5 separate regions of the Homo sapiens genome follow, and regions 2, 3, 4 and 5 are each linked to region 1. Evidence: promoter capture Hi-C in 16 types of primary human blood cells and fetal thymus (Javierre and others, 2016). All regions are on one chromosome and are shown on one strand. Each heading gives the region's core, a stretch centred on a gene start or on the middle of the fragment in contact. The rest is flanking DNA. Distances are from core to core; before and after follow the strand shown.

Region 1 (2,700 bases), core at 153-2,652:
TCCCAGCACTTGTGTTGCTCTGATCTCTCCATTTCCCTGACTCCCAGGCCAGGGAGAGTTCTTGTCCTCCTACCCTGCAATCCCTGGAGATGCGCTCCCCCCAACCGCAGCCCAAAGTGCCTTTTCATGGGGCTGTAAGGCAGCTGTCACGAGGTAAATCCCACTCTTTACCCCGCCAGCAGGACAGGTAGGGACAGGTGGGAGGAATACGGGAGGAAACAGCTCCCACTGGTGACTGCCGGACCCTCTCCTCGCTGGCCGCAGACCCTGGAGCCACTTCCCTACCGTATCCAGAGCAGGCCCAGCCCCCGACAAAGGGACCTTTATATGGTGGTCCTGGAATTTTAGTTGGGTTCCCGTAAATGCAGACCCTGACAAGGTCTTGGGCACAGGAGGTTTATCTGAGGGGACTCCAGGAAGCAGGAGTCAGGGAGAAGGAAGCAGGAAACAGAAGTAGACGTCATTACTGAGATTGCTGCTGGAGGCAACAGGGGTCTTGAAGGTAAGAAACATGTCCTTACGGGAGAAGCTGCCTTGGTGGGTTTGGAAAGTGTGAAGAGTTCGCAGGCGTGCTCATCATCAACTAAGTGGACAGGTGAAAGCTGGAGGGGCTCTGCAGAAGCCCTGAGTTGCACTAAAATCTGTACTAATCCAAATAGTGGGTCTAGATTCCCTCTCCTACTCAAAATGACTTTAACTCCTCCAATTTAGCAAATATTGGTTGAACATCTCCTACTGTATTTAATGGAATGTAAGAGATCATTGACTATAAGGCACGCCATTATTTTAAGAGGCTCTAAGAAAAGAGCTTCCAACTCAGCTATGACACTCTATGAAAAGTAAGACTTTCCTAGGTCAGAAGCACAGAAGTGTAAAAAGAATGTTGGTCTCGGGATGGGTACCATGTGCACTGTAGCTTAATGGGCATAGTGGGGCATTGTGACATAGAAACTGCCCTTGCTCCCAGCAGAGGAGAAAAAGCGTGTAAAGCAATGTCAGTGATAACAAGCAAAAATAGGACAGGGGAGAAAGCCAAGAGTCTTCAGACCACAAGAGAAGGAGAGATTAATTCTGGTAGGGAGGTATCAAGGAGGCCTTCCTGGATGAGGGGGTGGCATCTGAGCTGGGCTCAGGAAAAGGTGGGGCTTGAACTATTGGGGATGAAGGGAAAGGCATTCCCGGCAAGTGGGAACAGCACAGGCAAAGGCTCTGAGAGGTCCTAGAAATAAAGTTATTGCACTTCAAGGGGGTTGTAAGATTTATGGGTGAGGATAAGGAAAAAGTAGAGAATTAGAAAAGCAGTGAACTTACCCCTTTACCCAGAAATCCCCCTCCTAAGTGCATGGCCAAGAGAAATTTGCCCTCAAGTGCACCTTTTCCCTTTAGGAAAATCCACCTGGATGGACAGCAGCAGAGGGAGGAGGAGGCAGGACAGACCAGAAGAGAGACAATGAGGTTCTGAACCTAGATGTTGGCCAAGGGAGCAGAGGAGGGCAGGTGAATGGCGCTATAGGGGATACTGTAGCAGGAGGGTTGACTGGACTCAGCAACTGGGGAGGGAGTAGGCAAAAAGAGAGCCTGGGAACTTAGGACAAGAAGCAGGGTATTTTTTTTTTTTCAAGGGAGAGGTAAGCAACAATGATTTACTTGTTCTTACACATGGAACTCTCCAGGGCACTACACCTGCATTTAAATCACTTGGCTCCTGGCACATGGCTCTCCTCCCATTTCTCTTTCTGTCCACTCCCTCTTCATTTGTCCTCTGCCCTCTTCGTATGACTGTTCCTTGGGGCCCTGTCTCCAGGTCAGGAGGCCCTCGCCCTGCAATCACCCTTCCTGGGAGCCTTCACTTCACCTGTGATCTCAAGACCTCTCCCTACTGCCTGACTCGCGCCGAGCTTATGGAACATCTTCCCTTGAGGGTCGCAGTCCATTCGATGAGGTATTTTCCCCATGAAATCCCTTATCTTTGGGAACCTCTTCTTTTCCTTGTGCGTCCTATGTGGGTGGATGGAGAACCACTCTCCACGTGGTTACTCGGTCCAGAAGGGCGGCTGTCTGTACAAATGCGCCTCTTCCTTTCACTTCCTCTATCCAACCAGCTTCTTCTGCCCACCTCCCTTTCATGCTCCTTTCACGCTCCTTTCACATGCTCTTGGCTCACCGTTTTTTTCTTTAAGTTTTTAGAGACAGGGTCTCGCTCTATCACTCAGGCTAGGGTGTGCTGGCACGACCATGGCTCACTGCAGCCTTGACCTCCTGGGCTCAAGCTATCCTCCTGCCTCAGCCTCCTGAGTAGCTGGGACCACAGGCACGCACCACCATGCCTGGCTAATTTTTTATGTTTTGTAGAGACAGGGGTCTCTTTCTTGCCCAAGCTGGTCTTGAACTCCTGGCCTCAAACAATCCTCCTGCCTTGGCTTCCCAAATTGCTGGGATTGCAGGAGTTTGCCACTGCGCCTGACCTGGCTCGCCTTTTTTGCTCCTGGGCGTTGCTCTGACAACCGCAACAAGCTGTCACCTGACAGCTGTGGCAGTGGGTATCTGCTGTGGCAGGCTTTCTGTCCAAGCCTGCGGGGACTTGCTTAGCTATACTGGCTTGTGTGTAAACTTGGAAGCTCAAGGGAGGTGGCTTTCCTTGGGGGAAAACTTTGACCAATAGGGGCAGGAGCTGATGAGCTCATCTGTCTTCCATCCATG
Region 2 (2,700 bases), core at 45-2,544, 260 kb before region 1:
GATGTGGTGGCACACACCTGTAATCCCAGCTACATGGGAGGCTGAGGGAGGAGAATCACTTGGACCAGGAGGCAGAGGGTGCAGTGAGCTGAGATTGCGCCAGCCTGGATGAAGAGCAAGACTCCATCTCAAAACAAACATTTTGTATTTCTTTTTTTTTTTGAGATGGAGTTTCGCTCTGTCACCAGGCTGGACCGCAATGGTGCGACCTCGGCTCACTGCAACCTCCGCCTCCCAGGTTCAAGCAATTCTCCTGCCTCCAACTCCTGAGTAGTTGGGATTATAGACACCCACCATCATGTCTGGCTCATTTTTGTATTTTTAGTAGAAACAGGGTTTCACCATGTTGCCCAGGCTGGTCTCGAGCTCCTGATCTCAGGTGATCCACCTGCCTCGGCCTCCCAAAGTGCTGGGATTATAGGCGTGAGCCACCGCGCCTGGCCAACATTTTGTATCTCACGGTTAATCTAGATACCTCAAGTTAGTCAACAGAGAAAAAATTATTCTGGGAAATAATGTTCCTTTCATTCCCAACCTGCTTCTAGTTTGACCGAAATGTGCTTGAGCCTCCTATAGTTTCAGCTAAAATGACCTTAAGGATTTATGTCATCAGGAGACAACTGGACCCTAGACTCTAGGAAGGTTCTGTGTCTCCTCTGCGCATCCCTCTGCTGCCTTGAGCAGGCCTTGCTGCCTCCCCACCTGGTCTTCCAGGCAATGGCTCCTGTTGTCCTGGCAAGGCTGTCATTGTCCCATACCAAAGTGGAAAACAGCGATACCCTATTATGGCAGTATAGGGTTTCTTGCAAAGAACTGTTTTCTAATTTTGAGATACAATATAATCCACTACAGCCACATGAAATGGTGGTATAACATATGCTTGAAAACATGGGAAGACAAGGCTGCTAAATTGTTAACTGAAAAAAGGCAGATTATTCAAATACAGAACATGTTGTTATTTTTTAAAATACAAAAATAGGCCAGGCATGGTGGCTCATGCCTGTAATTCCAGCACTTTGGGAGGCTGAGGTGGGAGGATCACTTGAGTCCAGGAGTTTGAGCTTGGGTAACATAGTGAGACCCCCTCCCTCCGTCTCTACAGAAAATAATAATAAAAAAATAAGCTGGTCATGGTGGTGCATGCCTATAAGTCCCAGCTACTCGGAAGGCCAAAGTGGGAGGATGGCTTGAGCCTGTGAATTGGAGGCTACAGTGAGCTATGACTGCACCACTGCACTCCAGCCTGGGTGACAGAGTGAAATTGTCTCTGAAAAATTAAAATTAAAAAATAAAAATATAAAAGTAATTGTATGATCTATGAATAATAGTATTACTTGATGGTTTTACATTTTCTTTTCTTCTGTTTAATGGTGTTGGACTGCCAGGGCAGAGGAAGACACGATTTTAAGGACAAAAATTCCCTTTGGGTTTATTTCAGCATTCAATTGGAATTCCTAAAATTTAGAGTCACAGACTGCAGAAGAGCTAACGTAACAGGCCTAACACTAATGCCCTTTGAAGGGCCTGATTTCCAGGTCAACCCTTAGCTGACATCTGGGAATTTGTGTGCGTTTTTTGTTTGTTTGTTTTTTGAGACGGAGTCTTGCTCCGTTGCCCAGGCTGGAGTGCAGTAGTGTGATCTCGACTCACTGCAACCTCTGCCTCCCAGGTTCAAGCAATTCTCCTGCCTCAGCCTCCTGAGTAACTGGGATCACAGGTGCCCACCACCACGCCTGGCTAATTTTTGTATTTTTAGTAGAGATGGGTTTTCACCATGCTAGCCAGGCCTGTCTCGAACCCCTGACCTCAAGTGATCTGCCTGCCTCGGCCTCCCAAAGTGCTGGGATTACAGGCGTAAGCCACCGCGCCCAGCCTGGGAATTTGGATTTCAAGTTTATCCCTCCCATTCCCAAACTGGTAAGGTGGCTTACCGTCCCTACACTGTTTGCACAATGTGTTTTCTTTATGAGGAACATCTGTTTTCCTTCTGGGAGTCGGAATTTTGGCATACGCTACACAGAGGGTGCGTATGTGGCCAGCCCCCAGAAAAAGCCCTGGGCGCTGGGTCTCTCATAAGCCTCCCTGGCAGACAACAGTTCACATGTGCAGTCACAGCTTGCTGGTGGAGCAATGAAGTGTATCCTGCGTGACTCAGCTCAGGAAGGGCTCCTGGAAGCCTACCCCTGGACACCTGCGGACTTTCCTCCATGTGCCTCTTCCCTTTGCCGATTTTGCTTTGCATCCTTTTGCTATAAAAAATCAGAGTATGGGCCAGGCACAGATGTGGAGGCTGAGACAGGAAAATCTCTTGAACCCGTGAGCCGAGATTGTGGCACTGCACTCTACCCTGGGAGACAGAGTGAAATTCTGTCTCAAAACGAAATCAGAGTGTGACTCTGTGCTGAGTCCTGGGAGTCCTTTGAGCGATCTAGGGTGGGTCTTGGGGACCCTAACACACAGACTCACAGCTGGAACAAAGATCACATTGGTGGCTTTCAGAGTCATTTTCATCCTTGAACCTTTTGATCATGGAAGCCAAGTACAGATGCTCTGGTCAAATGGAGGAAAGGGACTTGGGGGCCCTCACGGCTGCTCCTCTTCACAGGCTCCAGCTTATAGCTCAGTTGTTTCATTTTATACACGAGGAAGCTGCAGCCCAGAGAGGCTAAGTGACATGGTGCTAAGCGGGTCCCAGGCAGT
Region 3 (2,700 bases), core at 165-2,664, 260 kb after region 1:
TTGCAAATGCTACCAATGAGGGCTTCTTTCTTTTCTCTTTTTTGTTTCTTTCTTTGTTTCTCCCCTCCCTACCTTTCTCCCTCCTTTCCTTTCTAACCTTCCTCACCTTCCTCCTTTCTTTTTAAGAATCAGTTGTTCAACACTTACCAGCAAGCCACTAGTTGCTCATCTATTTGCATTGCCCCGTAATACCTATCTTGCCAAGGGGAAATGGCACACAGGTAATCCGTGGCACACTGTGATGTGTTATTACTCAAATTATGAACAGTGCTGGCATGAGATAAAGTTCAAGTTGAGGGCAAAGTGTAAAGAGACTTTGATCCTATAGTGATTCTAAACATTTGGGAGCCAGCTGGCTTCTGATGGTCCTATGGCACATGCTTTGGGGAATGGGGGCTAAGTGAGGACGCAGCAAAGAAGGTAGCCATCTGCAAGCCCACCACTGGGCTCCTGCCTATTCACTCATTGTTACTCAGGGAATCCTCATTAGTTTCTTTTGCTCTGCAAGCTTACACTTAAATTCAACATCTGAGCTGAGGTCATAGCCTAGGCCAGAAAGCTTGAAAATCAGGCGGTGAGGAAGGCTGAGGATGAGGTGCTGATATCTATGCAGATCCAGGAAGCAATCAGGAAAGGTGGCCAGAGGTGTAGATCCAGTCCAATCCATGGTGAGTGACTGACGGATTGGTTAGCCAGTCAGTGACTTGGAACAAGACTTGAAAATTGATGATAAAGAGGTCTGGGAGTATGTGGATGGATCTCTTAGAATGGGCATGGATATTCATGCCTTCTTCACTACAGGGCATTCACTGTGGAGGAGGTTCTCAAAAATCAGGTGGTGTTATGGACTGAATTGTGTCTAACCCCGCCCCCCAAATTCACATGTTGAAGCCCTAACTCTTCAATGTGACTATATTCAGAGATGGGGCCTTTAAGGTGGTAATTAAGGTTAAATGAGGTCATAAGAGTGTGGCCCTAATCTGGTAGGACTGGTGTCCTGATAAGAAAAGGAAAAGACACCAGAGAGCTCTTTCTCTGCACACACAGAAAAGAGGATAAGTGAGGACACAGCAAAGAAGGTAGCCATCTGCAAGTAACGAATAGAGTCCTCACCAGAAATTAACCTTGCTGACACCTTGATCTTGGACTTCCAGCCTCCAGAACTTTGAGAAACTAAATGTCTATGGTTTAAGCTAACCAGTCAGTGGTATCTCGCTACAGCAGCTTGAGCAGAATAATTGAGGTGGTTAAGTTGACCTGTCCTGTAGAGGTTGACTAACCATGTGGCTCACTCAATGGGCTCAGATACAAAGTGGCCATATGGCAGGGGTGGAGGTTTATACATGGGTTCATCACTATGGACTTTTCCTCGCCAGGGCTGATTTAGCTACAGCTATTGATGAGTTTCCAATTTGTCAACAGCAGAGACTGTATCTGAGCCTCTAAGCTGTTACTATTTCCCAGGGATACCAGCAAGTTGATTATATTGAACCCTGTATTAATGGGAGTTCTCCAGAGAAACTTAACCAATAGAAGAGAGAGAAAGAGATTTATTTTAAGGAATTGGCTCACGAAACTGTGGAAACTGGCAAGTCCAAAATCTGAACCTATGTAAGAGTTGATGCTGCAGTATTGAGTATGAATTCCATAGGGCAGCAGGCTGGAAACTCCTTCTTCCTCAGGAAACCTCAGTCTTTGCTCTTAAGGCCTTCAGTGGACTGGATGAAGCCAACATGCATCACGGAGAACAATCTGCTTTAATAAAGTCCATGGATTTAAATACCAGTCGTATCTAAAATATCTTCTCACCGGAACATCTAGTCCGGTGCTTGACCAAACAATTGGCCACCATGTCCCAGCCAAGCTGACACATGAAAGTAACCCCCACAGGGCCCTTCCATCATGAAGGTGGTAGAACTTATTCTTCACAGAGATAGATATATCTCTGATACAGATTTGCCTTCCCTATTGATATAGTTTGGATGTTTGTCCCCTCCAAATCTCATGTTAAAATGTGATCTCAATGTTGAAGGTGGGGCCTAGTGGGACGTGTTTTGGTCACGAGGCAGATCCTCATGAATGGTTTGGTGCCCTCCCTGAGGTAAGGAGTGCACTCTTGCTCTTTTAGTTCACGTGAGATCTGATTGTTTAAAAGAGCCTAGCATCATTCTCTCTCTCCCTCTCTCTCTCTCTCTCTCACCCCCCCACCCTTTCCCAGCCTGTGACACACTGGCTCACTTTCCACCTTCTACCATGAGTAAAAGCTTCCTGAGGCCTCACCAGAAGCAGATGCTGGTGCCATGCCTCTTGTACAGTCTGCAAAACCATAAGCCAAATAAACCTCTTTTTAAAAATAAATTACCCAGCCTCAAGTATTCCTTTATAGCAACACAAAATGGACTAACATGCCTATTCATAATGCTTTGATCAGTACCACTATTCCCGCACTTGCAGAATTCCTCCATCATTGCCATAGTATCCTATATTATCACCTCTGATCAGGTGACATATTTTAGGGCAAAGGAAGTGTGGCAATGAACTCATGCCCAGATTAACCCAAAGGGCCACATCACCCAGAAACTTCTGGTTTAATAAAAAGTGGAGTGGCCTGAGGATGGCTCGGGTATAGTTCTAGGTGGGAGACAAGATGCTGGGAGGTCAGAGAGCTGTCTACCTCTGCCCCATGTGTCCTTAAAGATA
Region 4 (2,700 bases), core at 175-2,674, 290 kb before region 1:
CTTGAACTATTAATATTCATAGTAATAGCTAACTTTTATATATTACTTTATAGGCTAGATACTGTTCTAAGCACTATATAGAGTCACTCATCTAATTCTTACACTCTGGAGTAGGTGCTATTACAATGCCCGTTTTACAGGTGAGGAAATGAAGATATGCTGAGGTTAAATAATTTGCCCAAGGTCATACAGTTAGTCATTGGTATAGATAGGATTCAAACCTGGGTCTGGCTCAAACTTGGAGCTCTTAACCATGCTGCTGTATTGTTTGCTATGATATCAAGAGCTCAGAATTGAACCAGTTTCTTCATCTTCTCCAGTATTTTTTAAATCAACATTTGTAGTTTTACAAAAGTTAATAATCCACAAAAATTTAAGTAGTTTCCATTTTGTTTCTTTTCTTTTCCTATAAAGATAGTAACCATTTCCTCCAGGATAGATTCAGTGAAAGAGAATGATAAATTCTAACTGTGTTATTTATATCTGACATATTTGCATGATAAAACTCCTGGATTGAGAGCCAGGCATTGTGGTGTGTGCCTGTAGTCCCATCCACTTGGGACGCTGAGGCAGGAGGATCACTTGAGCCCAGGAGTTTGGGCTGTAGTTTGCTATGATTGTGCCTGTCAGTAGCTGCTGCACTCCAGTCTGGGCAATATAGTGAGGCCCCATTTCTTTAAAAACAAACACAAAAAACCTCTTGAATTCATGAAAGAAAATAAATTAACAGACTGTTTAAAAGTCAAGAATTTATTTTGTATGTTTTTACGATTTTGCATTTCAGTGTTGGCCATAGGAGGCAAAGGAGCAAGTTACTGCTTCCTCAGCAGTTTTGATGTAGCTAGAACCAGCAATTACTTTGACTAAAAGAAAACTTTGTAAGTTCATTGACTTTTATCCAGAGTAAGAGCAGTCCTTTGCTTTGGGGGAATTAAATTGGCATTTTCTTCTTTCAGTTTCATTATAGATGTCTTACAGTTAATGAATAATAGCAGTATGTTGTAATATACAAAATGTATCATTATGAATGGCACTGATACTTTATTACTGCCGTTTGCCTATATAACCGTCTAATCTGTTTTACTTTGTGTATGTAGATACTGATGTTTATCCGGGACTAGCTGTGTTTTTTCAAAATGCACTTATATTTTTTAGGTAAGTTGCCTTATTTTTTAACCACGCCTGTAACATTTACAGAAATGTCAACTTAATTAAGGCAGCATATATATGGAACACATATAAATCCCATGGATTGGTTACAATGATAGAACTTCTTTTAAAAGGTGAGAATTCCACTGTTACATAAGAGCAGAGAGGCCTTTTAACTAGAGGTCTTGCTGTGTATCAAGACTTTAGCTGGATCCTTTATATATTTTACCCTTTGAATTCACATTTAGGCCAAGTGCTGTGGCTCATGCCTGTAATCCCAGCACTTTGGGAGGCTGAAGTGGGTGGATTGCTTAAGTCTAGGAGTTTAAGACCAGCCTGGGCAACATGGCAAAACCCTGTCTCTATAAAAAAATATAAAAATTATCTGGTTGTGGTGGTGTACAGTGCCAGCTACTCAAGAGGCTGAGGTGGGAGGATTGCTTGAGCCGAGGAGGTTGAGGCTGCAGTGAGGCAAGGCTGCACCACTGTACTCCAGCCTGGGCAATAGAGTGAGACCAAAATAAAATAAAATAATGCATTTAATTATTTTAAATATATGTCAGGTGTTATTCCCATTTTATTTATTTTTATTTTTATTTATTTATTTATTTTTTGCGAGGGAGTCTCACCCTGTAGCCCAAGCTGCCTTAGTGCAGTGGAACAATCTCGGCTCACTGCAGCCTCCGCCTCGGGACTCAGGCGATTCCCATGCCTCAGCCTCCCGAGTAGGTGGGACTACAGGTGCACACCACCACACCCAGCTAATTTTTTGTATTTTAGTAGAGACGAGGTTTCACCATATTGCCCAGAGTGGTCTCGAACTCCTGAGCTCAGACAATTTGCCTGCCTCGGCCTCCCAAAGTGCTGGGATTATAGCCACCACACCCAGTGTTATTCCCATTTTATAGATGAGGAAATAAAGTTTAGGGCTTGCTTTAGGATGCCTAGCTAGTAAATGAGAAGCCTGGATTTGAATCCAGACTGCTGCTTCCATAGCCTGTGTCTTATTAAAAAACCCTATCAGACCCATTGTTTCACTTGACTAGCCTTTCGGGAAAAAAAAAATTAACAACAACAGGTAAAGTACCTTTATGAAGAAAAAAGGAAAAACCAGAATTAATACCTAGTGGCCAGCCAGGTGTGGTGGCTCATGTCTGTAATCCCAGCACTTTGGGAGGCTGAAGTGGGTGGATCATCTGAGGTCAGGGGTTCGAGACCAGCCTGGCCAACATGGTGAAACCCCATCTCTAATAAAAATACAAACATTAGTCGGGCATGGTGGTGTGTGCCTGTAATCCCAGCTACTCGGAAGGCTGAGGCAGGAGAACCACTTGAACCCAGGAGACACGGGGGTTGGAGTGAGTCGAGATAGTGCCACTGCATTTCAGCTTGGGTGACAGAGCAAGACTCCATATCAAAATAATAATAATAATTAATACATAGTATGCATATTATATACAAAACCTGTTGGGAAATTCTGTTTTCTGAATGCCCTTTTAAGAAAAGTTAAAGTAAGTGGAAAAATAAACCAATATTAAAAGTATTTTTTAG
Region 5 (2,700 bases), core at 83-2,582, 300 kb before region 1:
GCAGATCGCTTGAGTTCAGGAGTTTAAGACCAGCTTGGACAACTGGGTGAAACCCTGTCTCTCTTAAAAAAAACAACAACAACCCCCTCCCCTGCCCCCCAAAAAACACAGCTTTGTTGAGATACAGTATATATACTGTAACATTCACCTGTTTTAAGTGTACAGTCGAATGATTTTTAGTATTTACGGAGCTGTGCAGTCATTGCCACAATCTAGTTTTAGAATCTTGTAGCCTTTTGCAGTCACTTTGTATCTTTCTTCTCCCCATCCCTAGACAGCCACTAATCCGCTTTATGTCTATAGATTTGCCTATTCTGGATGTTTCTTGTAAATGGAATCACACAATATATGGTCTTCTGTCTTTTACTTAGTCAGTTGTTGAGGTTCGTTCATGTAGCATCTATCAGTAGGAACCTCTTTCCTTTTTGTTGCTGAATTTGTATTTCGTTGTATGGATGTGCTATGTTTTATTTATCCATTCGTTGATGTATGTTTGGTTGCTTCCACTCCGTGGCAATTACGAATAATGCTGCTATGAACAAGTTATTGTGAAGATATATTTTCATTTCTCTTGGGTAGTTAGATAGGAGTAGAATTGCTGTCACCTTCTTGTTTTTTTTTTTTTTTGAGACAAGGTCTCACTGTGTCACCTGTCATAGCTCACTGTAACCTCGAACTTCTGGGCACAAGTGATCCTTGCATCTCAGCCTCCTGAGTAGCTGAGACTACAAGTGCACACCACCATGCTTGGCTATCCTCATTTTTGGAGAATATTTTTGCTGGGTATAGAATTTGGGATTGAGTTTTTTTTTTTTTTTTTTTTTCTTCCGAGACAGAGTCTCACTTTTTTGCCCAGGCTGGAGTGCAGTGGTGCGATCTCAGCTCACTGCAACCTCCAGCTCCTGGGTTCAAGTGATTCCTGTGCCTCAGCCTCCTGAGTAGCTGGGTCTACAGGTAAGGGCCACCATGCCCAGATAATTTTTGTATTTTTATTAGAGATGGGGTTTCTCCATGTTGCCCAGGCTGGTCTTGAACTCCTGGCCTCAAAGCAGTCTGCCCACCTCAGTCTCCAAAGTGTTGGGATTACAGGCATGAGCCACCACACCTGGCCTGATTTTTTTTGTCTTAAAGCGTTATTAACAGTGTCATTCCTGTGTCTTCTAGTATCCTTTGTTCTGGTTAGAAGTGAGCCATCATTCCTATTGTTCTGTCTCTGTATATGTTGTATTGATTTTTTTCCCCATAAGACTGTTTCAAGAGTTTCTCTGTATCTCTGGTTTTCAGCAGTTTGATTATGATGTTTTCTTTGTATTTATCCTCCTTGGAGTTTGCTGAGCTTTTTGGATTTATAAGTTAATATTTTTCACCAAATTTGAGAAATTTTCATTTATTCTTTTTTTTTTTTGAGATGGAGTTTTGTTCTTGTTTCCCAGGCTGAAATGCAATGAATGGTGTGATCTTGGCTCACTGCAACCTCCGCCTCCCAGGTTCAAGTGATCCTCCTGCCTCAGCCTCCCAAGTAGCTGGGATTACAGGCATGTGCCATCACACCCAGTTTTGTATTTTTAGTAGTGACGGGGTTTCACCATGTTGGCCAGGCTGGTCTCGAACTCCTGACCTCAGGTGATCCACCCGCCTCAGCCTCCCAAAGTGCTGGGATTGCAGGTGTGAGCCACCGTGCCCAGCCCATCTATTATTTTTTTCAAAATTTTTTTATTTCTTATTCTGTCTTTTCTTCTTCTGGGAACTTTAATTACATATATTTTAGACCACTTAGTATTGTTCCTCAGGTCTCTAAATTGGATAATTTCTTTTGATGTTTAAGTTTACTGTCCTTTTCTTCTACTGTATCTAATCTGCGATTAAGTTCATTTAGTTAATTATTTATTTATTTATTTTTTAGATGGAATCTTGCTCTGTTGCCTGACTGGAGTGCAGTGGTGCAATCTCGGCTCACTGCAACCTCCGCCTCCTGGGTTCAGGCAATTCTACTGCCTTAGCCTCCTGAGTAGCTAGGATTACAGGTGCCTGCTACCATGCCCAGCTAAGTTTTTGTATTTTTAGTGGAGACGGGGTTTCACCATGTTGGCCAGGATGGTCTCGATCTCTTGACCTCGTGATCCCCCCGCCTTGGCCTCCCAAAGTGCTGGGATTACATGTGTGAGCCATCCTGCCCGGCCCATTTAATTTTTAAATTCAAACATTGTAATTTGCAGTTCTAGAATTTTCTTTCTTTCTTTTTTTTTTTTTTTAGGGGAGTCTCGCTCTGTTGCCCAGGCTGGAGTGCAGTGGTGCCATCTCGGCTCACTGCAAGCTCTACCTCCCGGGTTCTCGCCATTCTGCCTCAGCCTCCTGAGTAGCTGGGACTACAGGCGCCTGCCACCATGCCTGGCTAATTTTTTGTATTTTTAGTAGAGACGGGGTTTCACCATGTTAGTCAGGATGGTCTCGATCTCCTGACCTCGTGATCCGCCTGCCTCGGCCTCCCAAAGTGCTGGGATTACAGGCATGAGCCACTGCGCCCAGCCCCTAGAATTTTCATTTGAATCTTTTTACATTTTAATTTATTTTTTAGAGACAGGGTCTTGCTATGTTGCCTGGGCTGGGCTTGAAGTCCTGGCCTCAAGCAATCTTCCTGCCTCGACCTTCTGAGTAGCTGGGATTACAGGTGCAAGCCATCACATTGGCTCCTGATTCTTT

Evidence for each region. Contacts are between HindIII fragments. The CHiCAGO score rates a contact against its expected background, and 5 or more counts as called.
Region 2: a contact is called between a fragment that was not itself captured here and the fragment with the promoter of LINC01548 in region 1, in 1 of 17 cell types (neutrophils). The highest score is 6.5, in neutrophils.
Region 3: a contact is called between a fragment that was not itself captured here and the fragment with the promoter of LINC01548 in region 1, in 4 of 17 cell types (M0 macrophages, M1 macrophages, M2 macrophages and 1 more). The highest score is 10.1, in M0 macrophages.
Region 4: a fragment that was not itself captured here is called in contact with the fragment with the promoter of LINC01548 in region 1 in 5 of 17 cell types (neutrophils, monocytes, M0 macrophages and 2 more); the score reaches 6.8 in neutrophils.
Region 5: a fragment that was not itself captured here is called in contact with the fragment with the promoter of LINC01548 in region 1 in 1 of 17 cell types (neutrophils); the score reaches 5.4 in neutrophils.

What each region holds. Positions count from the first base shown.
Region 1 is chr21:33,168,938-33,171,637 of GRCh38, reverse strand. It overlaps LINC01548 (long intergenic non-protein coding RNA 1548), which reads left to right and starts at 1,402. Exons shown (of 4, transcript NR_024102.1): 1 at 1,402-1,497; 2 at 1,805-1,942. RefSeq lists an enhancer at 2,121-2,190. The HindIII fragment of the contact is 7,514 bases long and covers 1-2,700 here.
Region 2 is chr21:33,429,031-33,431,730 of GRCh38, reverse strand. The region is part of intron 4 of IFNGR2 (interferon gamma receptor 2); the gene reads right to left. Among named protein-coding and RNA genes, the nearest start is that of IFNGR2, 27 kb to the right of the region's middle. The HindIII fragment of the contact is 9,279 bases long and covers 1-2,700 here.
Region 3 is chr21:32,905,131-32,907,830 of GRCh38, reverse strand. All of the region lies in intron 4 of LOC105377136 (a long non-coding RNA gene), which reads right to left. Among named protein-coding and RNA genes, the nearest start is that of LINC01690, 52 kb to the left of the region's middle. The HindIII fragment of the contact is 1,705 bases long and covers 562-2,266 here.
Region 4 is chr21:33,454,182-33,456,881 of GRCh38, reverse strand. TMEM50B (transmembrane protein 50B) reads left to right here. Exons shown (of 7, transcript NM_006134.7): 6 at 1,098-1,155. Among named protein-coding and RNA genes, the nearest start is that of TMEM50B, 24 kb to the left of the region's middle. The HindIII fragment of the contact is 4,983 bases long and covers 1-2,700 here.
Region 5 is chr21:33,471,582-33,474,281 of GRCh38, reverse strand. The region is part of intron 1 of TMEM50B (transmembrane protein 50B); the gene reads left to right. Among named protein-coding and RNA genes, the nearest start is that of TMEM50B, 7.0 kb to the left of the region's middle. The HindIII fragment of the contact is 7,894 bases long and covers 1-2,700 here.